Regions from separate parts of the Homo sapiens genome. Here regions 1, 2, 3 and 4 are each linked to region 5. The links are contacts of gene promoters, found by promoter capture Hi-C in blood cells and fetal thymus (Javierre and others, 2016). All regions are on one chromosome and are shown on one strand. Each heading gives the region's core, a stretch centred on a gene start or on the middle of the fragment in contact. The rest is flanking DNA. Distances are from core to core; before and after follow the strand shown. Region 1 has its middle 55 kb from the start of PCED1B. Region 2 has its middle 93 kb from the start of PCED1B. Region 3 holds the start of LOC124902925 (a long non-coding RNA gene). Region 4 has its middle 98 kb from the start of SLC38A4. Region 5 holds the start of SLC38A2 (solute carrier family 38 member 2).

What was found. The method cuts DNA at HindIII sites, captures the fragments that hold promoters and counts their contacts. A CHiCAGO score of 5 or more calls a contact.
Region 1: a fragment that was not itself captured here is called in contact with the fragment with the promoter of SLC38A2 in region 5 in 2 of 17 cell types (endothelial precursors and M0 macrophages); the score reaches 8.2 in endothelial precursors.
Region 2: a fragment that was not itself captured here is called in contact with the fragment with the promoter of SLC38A2 in region 5 in 2 of 17 cell types (M0 macrophages and M2 macrophages); the score reaches 5.6 in M0 macrophages.
Region 3: a fragment that was not itself captured here is called in contact with the fragment with the promoter of SLC38A2 in region 5 in 2 of 17 cell types (M0 macrophages and M1 macrophages); the score reaches 7.6 in M0 macrophages.
Region 4: a contact is called between a fragment that was not itself captured here and the fragment with the promoter of SLC38A2 in region 5, in 3 of 17 cell types (M0 macrophages, M1 macrophages and M2 macrophages). The highest score is 15.0, in M0 macrophages.

What each region holds. Positions count from the first base shown.
Region 1 is chr12:47,022,435-47,026,316 of GRCh38, reverse strand. No RefSeq gene overlaps it. Among named protein-coding and RNA genes, the nearest start is that of PCED1B, 55 kb to the left of the region's middle. The HindIII fragment of the contact is 1,022 bases long and covers 1,967-2,988 here.
Region 2 is chr12:46,984,719-46,988,853 of GRCh38, reverse strand. No RefSeq gene overlaps it. Among named protein-coding and RNA genes, the nearest start is that of PCED1B, 93 kb to the left of the region's middle. The HindIII fragment of the contact is 4,004 bases long and covers 1-3,314 here.
Region 3 is chr12:46,959,536-46,963,903 of GRCh38, reverse strand. LOC124902925 (a long non-coding RNA gene) reads left to right here and starts at 2,030. Exons shown (of 2, transcript XR_007063287.1): 1 at 2,030-2,071. The HindIII fragment of the contact is 7,311 bases long and covers 1-4,368 here.
Region 4 is chr12:46,921,746-46,925,690 of GRCh38, reverse strand. No RefSeq gene overlaps it. Among named protein-coding and RNA genes, the nearest start is that of SLC38A4, 98 kb to the right of the region's middle. The HindIII fragment of the contact is 161 bases long and covers 2,528-2,688 here.
Region 5 is chr12:46,371,361-46,375,228 of GRCh38, reverse strand. It overlaps SLC38A2 (solute carrier family 38 member 2), which reads left to right and starts at 2,456. Exons shown (of 16, transcript NM_018976.5): 1 at 2,456-2,720; 2 at 3,850-3,868. It overlaps SLC38A2-AS1 (SLC38A2 antisense RNA 1), which reads right to left and starts at 2,446. Exons shown (of 2, transcript NR_187299.1): 1 at 2,367-2,446; 2 at 1,451-1,916. RefSeq lists enhancers at 1,897-1,956, 2,637-2,716, 2,574-3,277, 2,967-3,296, 3,377-3,526 and silencers at 2,207-2,546, 2,747-2,946. The HindIII fragment of the contact is 15,961 bases long and covers 1-3,868 here.

The DNA.
Region 1 (3,882 bases), core at 1,228-3,727, 650 kb before region 5:
TCAGCTTTATCCTGAAGGCTACAGTGAGGAGCTTAATCAGGTCTATAGTTTGGCAAAAGCACTCTGTCATCTAGGTAGAGGATGCATTAGAGTGGGGAAAAGACCAGAGACAAGGAGTTCAGTTAGGAGACTATCACAGTAAATCCAGGCAAGGTCTCACGATGATTCTAACTACTGTTAAGTCAGTAGGTATATTGAGGAAGGGACAAACTTATTTGAGAAGTAATTAAGCAGGAGAATCTATTATAATTCTGCTAACATAGTAAACATGGTATGCCCTGAAGATAGGCTGCTGGGGTTCAAATTTTGCAGGCTCTACCGCAGTGCCATGACTTTGGATGAGTTGCTTAGCTTATTTGTATCTCAGTTTTGTCATCTATAAAATGGGTGTAGTAACACAACACAGTGGATGATTGTGGAGATTATATAAAATAATAGGTGAAGAGCATTTAACTCTCTGCTTGCCATACAGTAAGTGCTCAGTATATATTTGTTATTTTTTCTATTGACTGATTAGACTTGGAGGTTGAGTGAGAGGACAGATCTAGGTTGGTTCACAGTTTTCTGGCTTGACAAAGTATAGGATCATTGAATGCTCGAATCTGCATTATTAATATTGAGTTGTCTCTCCAGACAGGATAGTCCATGTTGATAATCCAGCCACAGTTATATATCAACTCCAGTCCAAAAAAAATTCCCCAAGAGTAACTATTAATATGTTCCATTTCACTTTATTTGGGATTACTAAGATTGTTAAAAGAAGATGATAAAAGACGGAGACTGGGCACAGGGTGATGAAGAATGCAGAGACCTTCATTTGGTACTGGCAGTACATTCAAGCATCTTAAGTTTAAACTGGGAAGAATCTCAATCATTTCTTGGACCAGCTACCTAAAACTAATAGAAAAAAGGCAATGTTTGAAAACTAAATGGATTTTTGGCATTCAACAGCTAGAGAAAATGAGTTTGGGGGCTGAGGGTTTGGGGGAGGGAGGGCGGTATTTTATAAAGGTCACTGTCCCAAATGGAAGTCAAATGCTTCATCTTCTTTAACTGCAACAGAATACAGCTTTTTCAAAAAATGAATAACCAGTGAAGGATATCTTGGTTTTCTTTCTTACCCATTAGAGATAACTGATAAAAGTTAGGCAATAGAAGAGCTAGTTGGTAAAAATTCATATTAATTAATTTGTTGGTAAAATTATATATTCTTATAAATTATAATAAAGCCATAATGTAGAATTATAATTATATCAAAATTATAAGTTATTTTGTTGGTAAAAATTCATACTATTTTATGTCTCCTTGGTGGCTACTCTGACACATTTTCTTTAGTTTTTTTTACTAGATCTAAATGAATCAGAGGGCAAAGATCTACATTTATCTTGTCAATTTCCCCATATCCTAATTATATGATATAATTATTGTATTTTATAATTATTTTATGTGTACATAATATGTACTTAGCATATATATCATATAATTATTGGATATATTATATTTTTCTTGTATCTTTGTCTCAATGCTACAAAGAGAATAATAGTAAGGATAATAAATTACTTTCTAACATTAGCTCTGACCATCATACACTGTAACAGAGCTTTGGCCAATGCGTGGGCAGTGGCATGCTGGAGCTGGCTGTAGTAGCAGCTCAGAAGAGCTGATTGCGAGCATTTCTTTCCAACTCCTTTTTCAGTGACCTCAAGCTGGAAGCTTAAAATGAGACATAGTGGGAGTAGTTATACCATAAATACAGTACAAATCAGGGCTTTTCCTCCTAACAAACTAGTTTACCAGCACATCATTGATTAAATGTCAGAAATATATATATATAAAGATCTATTTTGTGTGGTATCAGGTGGCAGGAGAGAGGAAAAGGAGAGGTTTTGATTGCTGGAGAAGTGAAAGGGTCTTGAATTCAGCATCAATTCATAAAATTGGTTGAATCATAGAAATCTGCTAAGCTTCAACTATTTTTGTTTACAACATATCATATGGTTCAACCTAATACATGAGGCTGCAAGTAACAGAAACCCCTACAAACAATAGCTTATATAAATAAAACTTTTTGTCACATTGCAAGGAATCCAAAGGTAAGAAACGTCCTGATACAGCTATTCAATGAACTCAGCGATGCTGTCAGAGACCTATCATCCTGTTGCATCATCCTTAGAAAATTGACTTTTGTCCAGGTGAGATGGCTCACGCCTGTAATCCTGGCACTTTGGGAAGTGCAGGTGGGCAGATCGCCTGAGGTCAGGAGTTCGAGATCAGCCTGGCCAACATGGTGATACCCCGTCTCTATTAAAATTACAAAAATTAGCTGGGCATGGTGGTGCATGCCTGTAGTCCCAGCTACTAGGGAAGCTAAGACATGAGAATCCCTTGAACCGGGGATGTGGTTGCAGTGAGCCGAGATCATGCCACTGTATTCCAGCCTGGGCCACAGGATGAGACTCCGTCTCAAAAAATAAAAGTTGACTTTTGTCCTCAGGCTTGTCATCTTATGGTCACAAATGTCTGCTGTGCCTCCAGGGACTATGTCTTCATTGCAGGCAGAAGAGAAGAGAAAGGCAAAGGCTGTCTTCTGTAAGTTTATCAATGTTAATCAGAAAGACAAAAGTTCTTTTCTATGTTATCTGTGTTAATCAGAAAGACAAGCCCTGGAGGCTCATTCAAAAACTTCTGCTTTCATCTCATTGACCAAAATTTGTCACTTCATTCCCAGACAAAGTTACAAGATTACTAAGATTACTAAGGCTGGTTTAGACCAATCATAATTTATCCCTGGCCCTGGGATGAATCACGATTGGTTTAAACCCATCCATAAATACTCGACAGAGGGAAAGATCTCAGCAGCCACCTGAACGAACTTAAGGTTCCATTGGCTTGGGGAGGGAGGGGTGGATATAGGAAGAACAACAAAGGAGATCTATCACAATGCCCTTGAATTATGAATCCAGGAATCTAGAAACAAAGTAACAAGCTTTCCCATTTCTTGGTTTAGCTATGTAAAAGTAGTTCTATGTGTGTGTGTGTGTGTGTGTGTGTGTGTGTGTGTGTGTGTATCAGTGGTTGTTAAGCATTGTATTTAATTAGCATGCAGCTCAAAAAGTAGTTTGGCAAAATTTATATATTATATGATCACAGCATTAAAATTTATTCTTGAAGTCTCAGTCTTTACACTTTAATCTTTACGTGGCACAGTGGTCTGTTTACAACTTTTAAAAAAGATTGAGAGGGCCTTAAAGTAACATCACTGATCTAGCACGTTGGCCTAATAGATTGTTGGGAGAAGATAATGATATAAGATAAGGTATGTTATAATATAAAAATTTCTGAATAAAGAGCCTAATGCTAGCCATTTTAAGGAAAGCAGAAGGAGTAAATATACTCTTCTGCAGTGGTGATGGCATCATTTAAAAACTCTCACAAGTTATTTACCTACCTTGACATTGCAGGATCATGTTATCCAAGTGATTTGTAGTCTTGCCTCTGGAATAATGGCAGATCAACCAGTATAAAACCCTGGGTAATATACTAGTCTGAGTTAACTGTTTATACTTCGCTTTCCTGTTGATTTACCTATGGCAAATAAGACAATGCATGTCAGTTCTGCTCTTGGCTAGACTTTGTAGAGTAGTAGGTACAATGCATGTTTTCCTGACATGGTTATAAAGTATTTTTTGTCACATTTATAAGCACGGCTTCAAAATTGGACACACTTAGGTTTTATCCAGAAGCTGCCCTTTACTGTCAATGTGGCTTAAAATAAGTTATTCAATGACTCAGCCTGGTTTCTTCCTTTATAAAATGAAACTTTATCAGGTTGTGTGAGGACTAAGTAAGAAAAGTATGTAAAGTATTTAAATCACGTGGCAC
Region 2 (4,135 bases), core at 63-2,562, 610 kb before region 5:
GAAAGTATATGCGACCCTAAATGATAAGACACAGGGATATCTTCTAAACTAGAAGGGGTTCTTTTTTACTGATACATAATAATTGTACATATTTATGGGATACATGTGATATTTTGATACTGTATTCTCACATGCTATATGAGTTATGATTTATTTCTAGAAGTTATAAAATGGATTATTTATTTATTTTTATTATACTTTAAGTTCTGGGATACATGTGCAGAATGCACAGGTTTGTTCCATAGGTATACATGTGTCATGGTGGTTTGCTGCACCCATTAACCCGTCATCTAGGTTTTAAGCCATACATGCATTAGGTATTTGTCCTAATGTTATCCCTTCCCTTGTCCCCCCTACCCCATGACAGGCCCTGGTGTGTGATGTTCCCCTCCCTCTGTCCATGTGTTCTCATTGTTCAACTCCCACTTTTGAGTGAGAACATGTGGTGTTTGGTTTTCTGTTTCTGTGTTAGTTTGCTGAGAATGATGGTTTCCAGCTTCATCCATGTCCCTGCAAAGGACATGAACTCTTCCTTTTTTATGGCTGCATAGTATTCCATGGTGTGTATGTGCCACATTTTCTTTTTCCTGTCTATCATTGATGGGCATTTGGGTTGGTTCCAAGTCTTTGCTATTGTGAATAGTGCTACAATAAACGTATGTGTGCATGTGTCTTTATAGTAGAATGATTTGTAATCCTTTGGGTATATAAACAATAATGGGATTGCTGGGTCAAATGGTATTTCTGGTTCTAGATCCTTAGGGAATTGCCACACTGTCTTCCACAATGGTTGAACTGATTCACACTCCCACCAGCAGTGTAAAATCCTTCCTATTTCTCCACAGCCTCACTAGCATCTTTTGATTCCTGACTTTTTAATGATTGCCTTTCTAACTGGCATAAGATGGTATCTCATTGTGGTTTTGATTTGCATTTCTCTAATGACCAGTGATGATGAACTTTTTTCATTTGTTTGTTGGACGCATAAATGTCTTTTTTTGAGAAATGTCTGTTCATATCCTTTGCCCACTTTTTGATGGGGTCGTTTGTTTTTTTCTTGTAAATTTGTTTAAGTTCCTTGTAGAATCTGGATGTTAAACTTTTGCCAGATGGATAGATTGCAAAAATTTTCTCCCATTCTGTAGGTTGCCTGTTCACTCTAATGATAGTTTCTTTTGCTGTGCAGAAGCTCTTTAGTTTAATTAGATCCCTTTTGTCAATTGTGGCTTTTGTTGCAATTGCTTTTGGCATTTTTTCATGAAGTCTTTGCTCATGCCTATGTCCTGAATGTTATTGTCTGGGTTTTCTTCTAGGGTTATGGTTTTTGGTCTTATGTTTAAGTCTTTCATCTATCTTGAGCTAATTTTTGTATAAGGTGTAAGGAAGGGGTCCAGTTTCAGTTTTCTGCATATGGTAGCCAGCTTTCCTAGCTCCATTTATTAAATGGGGAATCCTTTCCGCATTGCTTGTTTTTGTCAGGTTTGTCAAAGATCAGATGGTTGTAGATGTGTGGCGTTATTTCTGAGGCCTCTGTTCTGTCCCATAGGTATTTTATTCTCTTTGTATCAATTGTGAATGGGAGTTCACTCATGATTTGGCTCTCTGTTTATTATTCGTGTATAGAAGTGCTTGTGATTTTTGCACATTGATTTTGTATCCTGAGACTTTGCTGATGTTGCTCATCAGCTTAAGGAGTTTTTGGGCTGAGACAATGGCGTTTTCTAAATATACAATCATGTCATCTGCAAACAGTGACAATTTCACTTCCTCTCTTCCTATTTGAATACCCTTTATATGTTTATCTTGCCTGATTTCCCTGGCCAGAATTTCCAATACTATAGAAACATAAATTTTCTACAGTAAAATGTGTGCAAAGATGTGTTCATAATAGTCTCTGGAAATCTTTTTATTTCTGTGCGATCAGTTGTAATGTCACCTTTGTCATTTCTAATTGTGCTTGGATCACCTTTTGTTTTCTTTGTTAATCTAAATAGCTTTAGGTTGATTTTGTTTATTCTTTCAAAGAAACATCTTTTGGTTTTGTTGATTTTTTGGGGGCTTTTGTGTCTCAGTTTTATGCAGTTCTGATCTATTTTTAGTTATTTATTTTCTTCTACTTGCTTTGGAGTTAGTTTGTTCTTGTTTTTCTAGTTCCTCTAAGTGAGATGTTAGACTGTTAATTTCAGATTGTTCTAACTTTTTGAGGTAGGCATTTAGTGCTATAAACTTTCCTCTTAACACTGCTTTTGGTGTATCCCAGAGATTATGGTATGTTTTGTCTCTGTTTTAATTCATTTCAAAGAATGTTTTTTATTTCTGCCTTAATTTTTTTGTTTACCTAAAATTTTTTCAGGAGCAAGTTGTTTAATTTCCATGTAATTGTATGGCTTCAAGGGAGCTTCATGGTATTGATTTCGATTTTCATTCCACTGTGGTTCATGAATATGATGGGTATGATTTCAATTTTAAAAAAATTTATTGACACTTGCTTTATGACTGAGGATGTGGATGATCCTGCAGTATGTTCTGTGTGCAGACAAAAAGAGTGGATATTCTGTGGTTGATGGGTGAAATATTCTGTCAGTGTCTCTTAGGTCCAGTTGGTCAATTGAACTGCAGAATTTCTGTTAGTTTTCTGCCTTAATGATCTGTCTAATGCTGGCAATGGTGTGTTGAAGTCCTCTACTATTGTTTTATGGCTGTCTGTCTTTTCATAGATCTAAAAGTACTTGTTTTATGAATTTGAGTGCTCCAGTGTTGGGTGTATATGTGTTTAGGATACATGAGCCATCTTGTTGAATTGAAGCCCTTATCATTATGTAATGCCCTTCTTTGTTCTTTTTTACTGTTGTTGATTTAAAGTCTGTTTTATCTAGGATTGGTCTTACTGTTTTTTGTGTTCTATTTGCACAGTAGCTCTTTCTCCAACACTTTACTTTGAGCCTATGAATGTTATTAAATGTGAGATGGATCTCTTGAAGACAGTAGATGTATTTTTTTTTTCAAATTGCCACTCTGTGCCTTTTAAGTGAGGGCATTTAGACCATTTACAGTCAAGGTTAATATTGAGATGTGCAGTTTTGATCCTATCATGAAGTTGTTAGCTGGTTCCTTGGTAGTTTTTATTGCATGGGTTTTTTAAGGGTTTGTAGGCTATATACTTAAGTGTGCTTCTGTGGTAGCAGATATTGCTCTTTTGTTTCCATGTTTAGAACTCTTTTAAGGATCTCTTGTAAAGGTGATCTAGTGTCAATAAATTTCCTTAGCTCTTGCTTCTTTGGAAAATATTTTATTTCTTGTTCACTTATGAAGCTTGATTTGGCAGGATATGAAATTTATTTTTGGTTGAAATTTCTTTTCTTTTCTTTTTTTTTTTTTTTTGAGACAGAGTCTCTGTCGCCCAGGCTGGAGTGCAGTGGCACGATCTCGGCTCACTGCAAGCTCCGCCTCCCGGGTTCACGCCATTCTCCTGCCTCAGCCTCTCCGAGTAGCTGGGACTACAGGCGCCCGCCACCACGCCCGGCTAATTTTTTGTATTTTCAGTAGAGACAGGGTTTCACCGTGGTCTGTATCTCCTGACCTCGTGATCCGCCCGCCTCGGCCTCCCAAAGTGCTGGGATTACAAGCGTGAGCCACCGCGCCCGGCCGAAATTTCTTTTCTTTAAGAATGATAAAAATAGGCAGCGAATCACCCCTGGCTTATGAGGTTTCTGTTGAGACATCCGCTGTTAGTCCCTTTGTATGTGATCTGACCTCTTTCTCTAGCTGCCTTTAAGATTTTTTCTTTGGTGTTGACCTTGGACATTCTGGTTACAATACACCTTGGTGATGTTCATTTTGCATAGTATCTCACAAGTGTTCTGTAGATTTCTTATATCTGGATATTTGCTTCTCTAGCAAGACTAGGAAAACAATATTGAATTATTCCCTCAAATATATTTTCCAGGTTGTTTTCTTTTCCTCCGTTTTTTTCAGGAATGGTGATAATTTATAGGTTTAGTTACTTTAAATTATCTCATATTTTTCAAAGACTCTTCATTTTCAAAAATTATTTTTCTTTATTTTTGTCTGACTGAGTTAGTTCAAAAGACTAGCCTTTAAGCTCTGAAATTCTTCTGCTTGGTTCAGTCCATTG
Region 3 (4,368 bases), core at 384-2,883, 590 kb before region 5:
AAATAAAAGCAGAATAGGCTAGGCATAGTGGCTCATGTCTGCAATCTCAGCACTGTGGGAGGCTGAGGTGGGAGGATCGCTTGAAGCAAGGAGTTTGAGACCAGCCTGGGCAACAAAGTGAGATCCCTCTACAAAAAAACAAAACAAAACAAAAACATTAGCCAGGCACAGTGGTGTGCACCTCTAATCCTAGCTACTCAGGAGGTTGAGGTAGGAGGATTGCTTGAGCCCAGGAGTTCAAGGCCACAGTGAGCTATGATCATGCCACTGCACTTCAGCATGGGTGACAGGGTGAGACCCTTCCTAAAAAAAAAAAAAGCAGAGTATTGACAATGTCATTTTTGACTTTGAAGTGAGCCATATAAGTGTCACATCACATGAGTGCAAGGAACACTGACATACTTCTTCAGCTGCTGCACATGAGCCTTACTTTAAAAATATCCATATGTAGCCTTGACTGTCTTTCGCTTTCTTCACACTTCAATCCTTTACTCCAAACATGTGATTAGTTCTGCAGCAGATACTTCTGCTTGATTCCAAATTATATCTCTAGAATGGCATTTTTTCTTAGCAGCTCCCACCAGCTGCTAGTAAGCATGCATAAGAGATAACAGGGAACAAGGATGAGAGTTCTTTGTGCTAACTCTTATGAGAATGGAAGAAAGCCACCTTACAACTTAGGACTGCATGAAAAAAGAAATGCTGAATAAAACAAATCAAATGCACACAGCAGAAGTTTCATAAATTTCATGACAATAATTTAATGTAAGAATTATTGTTAAGACTTATTGATAAACATCCAAGCTGAGTTGAATTGAATTGAACTGAATTTGGTTACTGAATTGAGCTAACACTTGTCCTGACATTTCCTGAAGGCTGGCACTTTCTCTGAACTCCTTACAGTCTGCACTAAGATTGCAGGTGATCTCTTATTTTCTTTTATCCTCTACCTCCTCTACCAAAAGTTGTCCATAGTATCAAGAGATGAAGCCCATGCAATATCTGGGGACAGATCCTAGCTGACACTCATGAATTCTGTATATGGGAGGTCTGAATAGGGAATCAAGGTCTCTGTTTCACAATTTTTCCCAAGTTCACAGAGAACTGACACACTGTTTTTAGGAGAACCTCATCTTTTTGAGAGATCAGATTTGTCTCATCTAAGAACAAGTCTCAACAGAAAGGTTCGGACTTCTTGAGAGGTCTTCTAATGTCTCAAAGTAGCAAAATGTAATGGGCAAATTCATGTACCTTCAGAATTCATGTAGGTGATAGTCTGATATTTCTTTTTGTTTCCTGAAGACAAATGTCTTTATAAAATATTAACTCATCTATACAAACCTGACTATGTGAAATGAATGTTTAATCTGTAAAATATATTATGAAGAGTATAGCAGCTGCTTCCAATGTTATCGGAGTATAATTGATTTTAATTATTTAGGTATTTCAGGTTTTACTTCCTGGATGATTAGGAGAGAACTAATGTTTGCATGGAGAATGAGTGTGGGCCAAGAAGTAGATAAAGGAAGTGAATGGAGAGCCTTCAATAGTTCTCTAGATTGTGAGAAGCTGCTGAATATTCAATAACGAGGTCAATTCTACCTGTGCAGTGGTCCTGGTTCTGCCCTCTTCTTTCCACTGCCCCCACATAAGTCATCATTACCTCTTGCTGGACTGTTGTGATAGTCATCCACCTGGCCTTCCAGGATCTTTTATGTCCTGTCTTGAATCAATCCTGTATCAATCATTTATCCAAGAAATATGTAACAAACATCTACTTTGTAGGTAGCAGGGTTTTTTTAAAATGCTGTCACAGGGCTCTTTAGAGGGATTTCAAACACTATCACAGGGATCTTTAGAGGGAAAAGGCTTTAAGATACACCCACCCATTCAATTGGCTTTTTTTTTTTTTTTTTTTTTTTTTCTGAGACGGAGTCTTGCTCTGTCACCCAGGCTGGAGGGCAGTGGTGCAATCTCGGCTCACTGCAAGCTCCGCCTCCCGGGTTCACGTCATTCTCCTGCCTCAGCCTCCCAAGTAGCTGGGACTACAGGCGCCTGCCACCACGCCCAGGTAATTTTTTTTTTTTTTTTGTATTTTTTGTAGAGACGGTGTTTCACCATGTTAGCCAGGATGGTCTCGATCTCCTGACCTCATAATCTGCCTGCCTCGGCCTCCCAAAGTGCTTGGATTACAGGCGTGAGCCACTGCGCCCAGCCCTGAATTGACTTTTAAAGAGAATTACCTAATGGGGTGTTCTGTTTCCCAAATTCCCAGTGGGATCTATGAGTAGGAGTGTGTTGTGTGTGTGCGTGTATATGTGTGTGTGTCCCCTCTAGGTAAGGACCTGATACTACTTTGCTTTCTTCTCTGAAGAAGACAAAAATATTTTCAATTATTTATAACACTACACTAGTAAAAGCCTGTGATCCATAAAGAGAAATTCGATATCATTTTGTCCTTCCGATTCCCCATATAACTGCCATCATTTTTCCAGTTAATTCCAAAGGATCTAACGACCTTTTTCCTCACAGAATCTCTTGTCTTTTCAAATTTTATTTTATTTGACATATATTTATGTCCTTTTTCAAAAAACAGCCTTGAGGATGTTTTCAAATATAGATGTATATACATTATTTTGAACAATTTTAAAGTTATTCTGGGATGACTTTTATTTCTCCATGTAAATTTATAAATCTGGAAGGCTTTGTTGTGTGTTTGTGAATAACGACTAGCAGTTTTAAGAATCTTTTTTTGATCTTAAGAGGTTTATTCAATAAGTTGCCTATAATAGATGCCTTAGGAGAAATACTTCATTTGTATTCTAAGATTGCACGTTGCCTTATTTACGTTTGTTGAGAAATGAGAGCTATCTGCTTGGGATCAGCCAAGAAGTACGGTGGAGAGGGCTTAGGTTCTGAAGGAGACTTGGACTTCAATGCAGTGTCAGCCTCTGGCTGGCTCCATGATCTCCTGGGAGAGGCACTTCAGATCTGGGTGCTTTCCTTTCCTCCTCTGTGAAACATCACAGATTGCTGCTAAGGTAGGTGAAACTGCTCTGTGAACCTTGAAATATTCTGTGAGACATGCGCTGCTTAGGAGAAGGGGTGCCTTGAGCCAGTGATGTTCTTGCTAAACTAGTCATCTGTTCCTGATAGTAAAGAAATTGAAGCAAGTAAAGAAATTGAGGCAAGTTCTCCCCACTCCTACTTCTTCCTACCCAGATGAAATAAGTCTCCTTGCAGACATACTCTACAGGTATTGACTACAAGTATTTAATGGCTACAAATATTAAGAAGTGCTTTTTAAAAAGCATTAACATCACCCCTCAATCAATAAATTATTGAAGCTAATTGGTAAATCTGAAGAGACTTTGGTATAAATAGGCAAACATATTTTGGCCACGCTTGGTAATGAATACACCACTTATACCCTGGCCACTTTTTCAAGTCTTGCTTTAAGTTTTGTCCTTTTGCCTTCCACACTTTTTGGCACGATGCTAATAAGAGATATCCACAAGGCAGCCACCAGTATGTAGGATTACTTGATTACTTACCCATACTCGAGAAAATGTGCAAAATATGCAAAAAATCTAAATAAACAGTATTCAACAAAATTGACCTCTTTTTATTTCTTGGAGTTACAATATTCTGGCCTTTCAAGAAAATGGTTATTCAACAGATGAAGGATAACGAACCACTATTACACAGGAATTAAAACCTGCTGGCTAGACAGAAACTCAAGAGAAAATAAAATCTTTCTTTCCAGCTTTAGAATTGAATCCATGCATTGATCTAACCACAGACTTTCCCAAAGACCTGTGAAGTTTATTAATGAAAAATCAGATTGTGGGAATAGTAAGAATTTTTTTTAGACAATGTATACTGCTCTATCTCCATGCTACTTCTCATATTTAAAAGTCATTACATTAATTGTTATTTTTATGTTTCAGCATGTGCAGGTCAACATAATCTTTTTAAATATAATGTCAGGTGAAGTTGTTTTCTTTAAAAATTGACTGGCACATGTTTCCACCTACTTGTTTACTTCTGTCTTCTTTCCTCAGTGGGGTGATGTGTTATCTGGGGACATTTTGGTCACCGTCAATTCTTTTTCCTTTTTGTCACTCTAACTGCCTGCTTGAATTTCACAAGCTGCTGACTCAGACCACTATCATCTTCCTTGAAGTCTAGCCTTTGCCAACAAGCCCAGCTTGGCTATTTTTATAAGCCATGTCAACCAGTTGTTTGAATGGATCAGCCCATTCCATCATAGGAATTGACCTGGTTACTCCATAGGCACAAGGAGATGAGAAGGGAGGGGGAATGGGTGAGAAAAGGAACCTAAGCTGAGCAATGCAGAAGCCATTG
Region 4 (3,945 bases), core at 1,359-3,858, 550 kb before region 5:
AATATTTCAAATATTATTCCAGCAGAGAGTTAGTTATTCCAGGCTCCTGTGCTGTAGGGTAACAGTAAGCTAATTATTTCAGTCTCTTAGCTGAACTTGTCTATCATCAGATTATGATACTTAGTAAGTAAAATGCACAAGTAGTTTAAAAAGATAGAATACCTTGGAAATACACTTAAAATCCAGTACGCTTTTCATTTTCCCACACATCTATTTTTTTTAATAACCTTCAACAGGTAAAGCTCAAATTTTGCTAACTGTAGAATTAGAGGGTGACCTTGGTGTAAGATAACTGAACTAAAACTCTCACAAGCTTCTCCCTACATAGCCATTATCCCAGCTTTCTCCAAATGGCTAACCAACATTTTATTTCCTTAATCACAGTCTTCCCCTCCAAGGAAAACCTCCACATCATATTCAACTGCTCAAACCACATTTCTACCTCTGTAGATCATATTGGGTTGCACATGTTTTTGAGGACTTTCCTACCCCAGGCCATTTAAATGACATATAAATTACATCTTAAGTATCCTTTCCAATGAACACTTCCTTCTGATTTATTAGAAGATTGTTAACTGTTCCCCATCCTGACCACAGTCTGTCTGAATATGCCACTCACCCAGTTTGGAGGACACTTTAACTAATAACTGTTTTATTTTTGAGATTTCTCCTGCTTCTAACTGAGCTGTCTTTGAGAACAGTCTTGAATTTTGGGGGGAGGGTTGGTGGTGGCAGAAAAGGTGGGTGGCTTACACTCCTGGGTCTCACAGGTGTTTATAGGATGCCTAAAACATTTCAATAAGTTTCTGGCACATCTGTGGGAGATAGAGCCTCTCCTCTGCTAAGTAGTGGCTGGGGAACCTGGAGCAAGTTCCTACATGTTTCTAAGCCTCAGTTTCTTCTTCTATAAAGTGGGGCAACAGAGCTTCCCTGGGAGAGTGATTTGAGCATTAACAAGACACTTAGAATGCCTCCATCACATAGTGAGCCTCAATTATTATTATTTCTTATGTCTCTAGATTCTCCTGTGCCCCTCAAACCTTCTTTTGCATGCTCAGAGACCCTGTTCCCCTGGGAATGGTTGTCTACTAGGTGGGTTTGGGAGCAGTGTGGCTGGAGCCACAGAGCCAACACTCCCAGCGGAACCTGGGGAAGCTACTTCAACTCTCTGGCCTCAGCTTCCTCATCTGTTGACTTGAGATTTCTTTGCATTTTTCTGAAACTCCATCCACTGCAACATGCTTATCAGATTAAAGGTAGAAGAGGGCACAGTCACATGTTTGGCTTGCTTTGTTAAAAGATCCTAGCGAATTGGGACAGACAGACCAAGCCCTAACAAAACTTTCATAGCTTAGCTATGGTAATATAAACAAAATATTTACTTTGGTTTTTGCCCCTACCTCCTTCCCTTTTCCTTGTTTGGAACTCCTAAATTATATCATTGGAATTTTGGGAAGTTATAAGTGTTTTTTTTGGTATACTAACAAAATGACTGATAGTTGGGGGCTCCCAGATAGCTTCAGGATAAAGGCTGGTTGACAGAGGAACCAATTATATGGTTGGAGGGTTGGAACTTTCAGCCCAATCTTCTGATCTCTGGGGAGAGGAGAGAAGCTGAAGGTTGAGTTGATCACCAATGGCCAATAACTTAATGAATCATTCCTTAATAGTGGAACCTCCATAAAGACCCAAAAGGACTGGGTTCAGAGAACTTCTGGGTTACTGAACACGTGGAAGGTGACATACTCCAAGAAGGCATGGAAGCTCCTTACCGCTTTCCCATACCTTGCCCTCTGCATCTCTTCTATCTGGGTGTTCCTAAGTTAGATACTTCTATAATAAATGGGTAAATGTAAGCAAACTGCTTCCCTGCATCCTGTGAACCACTCTAGCAAATGACTGGGCCCCAAAAAGGGGCAGTGGGAACTCCCAATTTATCGCCAGTTGGTTAGAAATTCTGGAAACCCTACTTGGAATTGGCATCTGAAGTGGGGGGAGTCTTGTGAGACTAAGCCCTTAAACTGTGGGGTCTGACTCTAACTCCTGGTAGACAGTATTAGAGTTGAATTAAATTAAAGGACACCCTGTTGGGATCAGCTGGAGAACTACTTGGTGTGTGGGGAGAGAACCCCACACATCCGATGTTAGAAGTAAAATATTGAGTGTGAAGTATCTCTGTGAGAATAGAACAAACAATTAAATTTTTCAAATCTCTTGCCACTATCTGCTGTCCTCAGCACTAAGACAACCTGGTCTTTAAAAATGAGGGGGGTTTTAGAAGTAGGTAACTCTCTGAAATAGTTGGTGATGATTTGATGGTTCCAGAAAGAATAAGAAAAACACCACATGGAGCCTTATAAGTAGGTATAAGATGAATTCCAAGATAGACCAGGCCAGTTTTGCCACAACACACACCTTCCTGTGTGGTTCACTCCTTCTCTCTTTCTGCTTTAACTAATGTTTCTGTCTTCTCGGTCTTCATTTTTAAGTTTAAATTGTTTGCTCTTTGGCCTGCTCAGCTAAAGCTTGTTTCTCTGTCTGGGTTCATGAATAGGTGTAGCTAATTTGCTTCTAGCTGTTACTAAGTTCCTGTGTGTCTGTCTTGACAAGAAGATTCCTTTGCCATCACTCAATTTAGAGCTAATTGGAGCCTTTCATTTGTGGCCAATTATAACAGTTAATTAAGCTTAGGTAAATTTATTTAATCTTTTTTCATAAAATGAAGAATAACTCGATTTAGTAAAAAAAAAAAATTTCCTTTCTCTCCTATTATCAACAGCTTGAAGACACTATGAAATAGTGAAGTTACTTATTTTCTTATTCTGAAATTGCAAATAGATTTTCAAACACTTAAGTGCTTCCATTTTGATCCTTTCTGGGATATTCATTTAAATTCCCCAAATGTTTATTGAACCCTACCACTGAATCCTAGTGTGGAAATCTACCAGGGAACCCAACCAAAATATAACATACAGGTTCTGGCCTCAATAGTTAATAACTTTGTAGGGCAGAAGACCATATACACAATTATTAATAGGGGCAGAGTCTATTAAATACCAGAAAAAATTAACATGTATTGCAAAAGATAGACTACAAAGAAAAGGTTAAGTCTAGCTGGGAAGGTGGTGGTGGGTGGTTAGGGAAGACTCAGAGATGAAGGTAGAAGGAAGGGTACAATTTCGGCAGGAAGAAACAGTGATGAGAGTAGAGAAGGCATTTTAGGGGGACACAGCTGACTAGGCCGAGGAGTGGAGGTGGGGAGAGCAGACCTTTCCGGGGAGAGCCCAAGTTAGTTAGATCTTGGAAGGTGAGGAAGGATATTGCTCAGAATGCAGCTTGGACCTTGGTCATGGACAGGGTTGTGTTCATGTCAACTAGTTTATACTTCACTCCATAGCCTGCATGGAGCCACTGAGAGTTTTTAAAAAGAAATAATATTGTCAGAACTGTGCTCAGAGCAGCTTGCTTGGATGATATTGCTTCAAGGGGTGGTTAGCAGGGGTGGGCACATGACAGCCCCGTGGACCAAATCCAGCCCACCATCCGTGAGTTAAGAATAGTTTACATGTTTTACAATGGTTGAAAGAAGTCAGAAGAAGAATAAAATTTTGTGATACATGAAAATTAAGTTTCAGGATCCAGCAATAGAGTTTTATTGGAGCACAGCCACATTCGTTTGCTGATGTATCATCCAGGCTGTTTTTGTGCTACAACAGCAGAGTTGGGTGGTTGCAACAGAGACCATATGGTTCACAAAGCCCCAAATATTTACTATCTGGCTCTTTACAGGAAAAATTTCTCAATTCCTTGTCTAGAAGTCTAGTTTAAAGAAAGCAGACTTTGGACAGCTAGAAATTTCAGGGAAAAAATGTGAAGTACACAGAACTAATACTTGTTTAGCCTTGATACCTGAAATTTTGCTGTTCATTATGGCCTAACAAAGTA
Region 5 (3,868 bases), core at 1,207-3,706:
ATACACACATATATATACACATAATCAAGATAAAAGATTTACAGAATAATAGTACATATGGCATACTGATTTTTTAAAAAAAATTATTCTATTCTACTGCATTGAAGAAAATAGAAAGCTAGTACTAATCCACTGAATTCATCACTATCCACCACTTGGTCCCATTCTGAAAGTTTAAAAAATGCTGCTCTTCTAGAACATTAGCTTAGAAATCAAACAAAATTATAGCGCACTGACCAATAGGTATTTGGCAATATCGTTTCCCAGAAATTGAATGAGGACACTGTGTCCAATGCATTCAAGCCCAAAGCATAACAGCAATTGCTCAGAGCACATCAGGCCTCAGTTGGAAGTCTGATGGAGTTAGCAGGCATGCCTCAGTTTGGCCCTCGAAAAGACCAATCAAACTGGCAATAAAAACATGGAAGTTTCACCCCTCCACCCTTCTTTTTTTGTCATTTACTGTTCAAGTTCTGATCATACAGAGACCAGATCAATATTGCAGCTCCCCCCCCCGCCCCTGCCCTCCACTTTGCCCTCAGCTGTACAGGTATTGTGCTTCTCCTAAATATGTGTTGCAATACAAACCACCAAAAAGTCCAAAAGACATGAGATTTACTTATAGTGCCACTTGCCACCCATAACTACCAACCCTGAGGGCCTCCTTAGCACCTCTAACTGGGCAGAGGAAACGACCAGAGATTCATCTGGAATGAAAAAGTGGTTTAAGACCTTTTGATTGTTATCAGTTGAAACCTAATATAAAGAAACTTCCTGGGACTCCTCTCTAACCTACCACTACCAAGATTGTTGTGACAAGAAGAGTTGATTGATTTTATTGGGGAATGTATGTGGAAGGAAGATAGTTTTTTCAGCCCTAATTGTGTGTCAAATTCCAAACCTGCCCTTGGGGAGTTCACAATCTTTGGGCAGATGATACTACAAATAGTCTGGAACGATTTTGAGTGCATGACAGCACGGATTTTTAAAAGTCCGTCACCATATTGTTTTAGAAAATAGTACCTGCAAAAAGAGGGCTGAGTACGGAGGGATTAAGGCATGCGGGGCGCTTTCCTGTGGCTCGAAGACTAAGCCTTGCATGACAGCGGCATTTAAGGGGATGAGAGGAGATTGGACACCAAAGCAAGAATGGCTATTATTTAAGACTGGCCTGAACAGAGTAGAAGGTTTGCGGTAGGGAAGACTGGCCTGAACAGAGTAGAAGGTTTGGGGTAGGGAACACAGGAGTGTGATGGGGGAAATCGGGACCTCGCTTGTCAATCATAAACACTGGTGCAGGCGAGGGCACCCGAAGCCTCACGTGCGGCGGAAATAGGCAGTTGTACGGATTTCCTCAGTAAAACATTGAAAGCAAAAACTGCGATCACACCCAGCCCTTTCCTCTATGCCCTGCCCAATTTCTCCCAAGTCCCCAAAAGGAAGAGAGCAGTAGGTCAAACTTGTTTATTCATTCATTCCATGAACATTTCTCTCTCCTAAGGGGTCTTTGTTTCCTGCAAGGGAGTGAGTCTTGCCTTTCCCGCAGCACCAATTTTTCCACAGCGAAGGGTCCCCCTAGTTGCCTGGCTCAGCAAGACCACACACATCACCATTGAAGGGAAAGGACCAGGCTCCGCAGAAAGCGCCTCAGACCCGCATTCAGACAAGGCAGTGCCTTTGCCCGGGGCGGCGGTGGTGGGATAAGAGAAGCAACGTGTCAGCGAGTGGAAAACTGGGGACTCCCAAACGGCCTTAGGAGCGCCGGGCTCCCCACTGGGGCCTCTTTCTAAGGGGCCTGGCTTGCTGGCCAAAAGGTAGCCTTTCCGCTAGTCCAGTTTCCATGGCCGTACAAAAAGCACATCCCGAAAAGGAGCTGCTCGCCGACCTCCGGCTAGTTTTGAAGAGTGAAAGCAGGTCTAGGTGGAAAAGAAAGAACAACAAACCATCAGGACAACCTTGCTGCCTTGGCCCAAGTTTGTGAGACAAAACTTCACTGTAAATCACAAAAATAACAATCAAGAAAGTGTTTGGTGGGAGGGTGGTGTCCCCCAAAAGCCTTGATGTGTCCCCCGAAAGCAAGGACTGCTGGTGACTCGGACAGGAGAAAATTTTAAGGAGATGGCTCCTCAAAGACAACCGCATGTGTTGAGCACCAACCCTGGCTGAAAAGGATAGGCAGGGGAAGCATCTGGGGGTCTTTCCAGACTATCTAGAAAGCTGGAGAGAGTGGGCTTGGGCTTTGCGGGAGAGTCTTGGGGGCGCCTGCGGGCGGGGCTGGGCCGCGGGCGCGGGCCGCAGAGGGAGGGGCAGGGAGGCGGGGCCTAGGTCTGGGCGGGTCGGAGGCGGGGCCCAGGTGGTGTTGATACACAAAGAGAAGGCGCCCGGGCGGCCGCGGTCCCGCCCACTGACGCGTCCCCGGGGTGCCGCTATAACCCGCCGCTCGCAGGGCTGCTCCACAGCCGCGCGACGCCGCCGCCTTAGAACGCCTTTCCAGTACTGCTAGCAGCAGCCCGACCACGCGTTACCGCACGCTCGCGCCTTTCCCTTGACACGGCGGACGCCGGAGGATTGGGGCGGCAATTTGTCTTTTCCTTTTTTATTAAAATTATTTTTCCTGCCTGTTGTTGGATTTGGGGAAATTTTTTGTTTGTTTTTTATGATTTGTATTTGACTGAGAGAAACCCACTGAAGACGTCTGCGTGAGAATAGAGACCACCGAGGTAACGCGTGCGGGGGGGCGTCTGTGGGAAGGGCGCGGGGCCCGGGCGAGAGTGGGGGAGGGGCTTCCGGGAGGGGCCGCGCGGGAAGGCGGCCGCGGGGTCCGTTTCCTTTCGAGGCGGGCGTTGTCGGTTGGGCTGGCCAGCCTTCCACCCTGGCCCGCCGCGCGGGTGTCGCGCCCGCGACGTGGGTAGGAGAGCGGGCGCTGGGCGGGGGCCGCGTGCCTGCACGGTGCGGAGCCGCATCTTCCCATTAGGGGGAGGGGAGCTAGCCCGGCCAGCGGCTCTGCTGCGGCAAGTCTTGTGACTGATTTGCATTTAATAAAAAAAAAAAATTAAGTCCAGGGAGCCAGGAATCTGGGGGCGGCGGAGGTGGGCTTGGGCATGTATTACAGGAGAGGCCAAGATTGGGGAAGACGAGTTGGGAACATTTGACAATCGACGATCGATATTGCATCAGTTTTCTTTCCGGACATAGGAGGGGCTGGGCGGGCGTAGCACTCGCGGGCCAGCTGCCTGTGGACGGGTGTGCTTGAGGGCACTGGCGCGCGTGTGTAAACAAACCCCCAGCTCCCGGGGCCCGGGCGTTCGCCCCCCTCGAGAGAGGAGTAGTGTCGGCCCTTTCCGCCTCCTGGGGAAGGCTGTCTGCGGCAGAGGCATTTCTCCGTGTGGGGACTCCGGGCAGTAAAGGACAGATTACGCAGCATTGCTGTTCCAAATGCTAGAAACGGAAAGCCGTGCGCCTAGGTTGCATGCACACGAGCCAGGGTCGGGGCTGGATGTGTGCCCTGAGTGCCTGTGCAAGTTTGGAGCGACTGGGAAAAAGCAAAACAGAACCCCCCCTCGCCCCCTCCACTCCGACGAGGGACAATAGAGAGGGTGAAATACTGAAATCTGCCGGAGTAGGGGGCCTCGACGGCCGCAACACAGCGGTGGCATCATCTTTGTTCTCCCCGCGGCTCCGCCGTCTGTACTTTTCCGCCCCTCGGCGCGCCCCCGCCCCTCGCGCGCGGCTGGTACTTTTCCACTCGCCTGGCCTGGGATGAATCAGCCGCGCTGCGCCTCCGGGCGGCGTCACGTGACCGCGGCGGGCTGGCGCTGCGGTCCTGACGCGCCGCCTCTACTTTCGCAGGCCGACTCGCGGGCCGCTG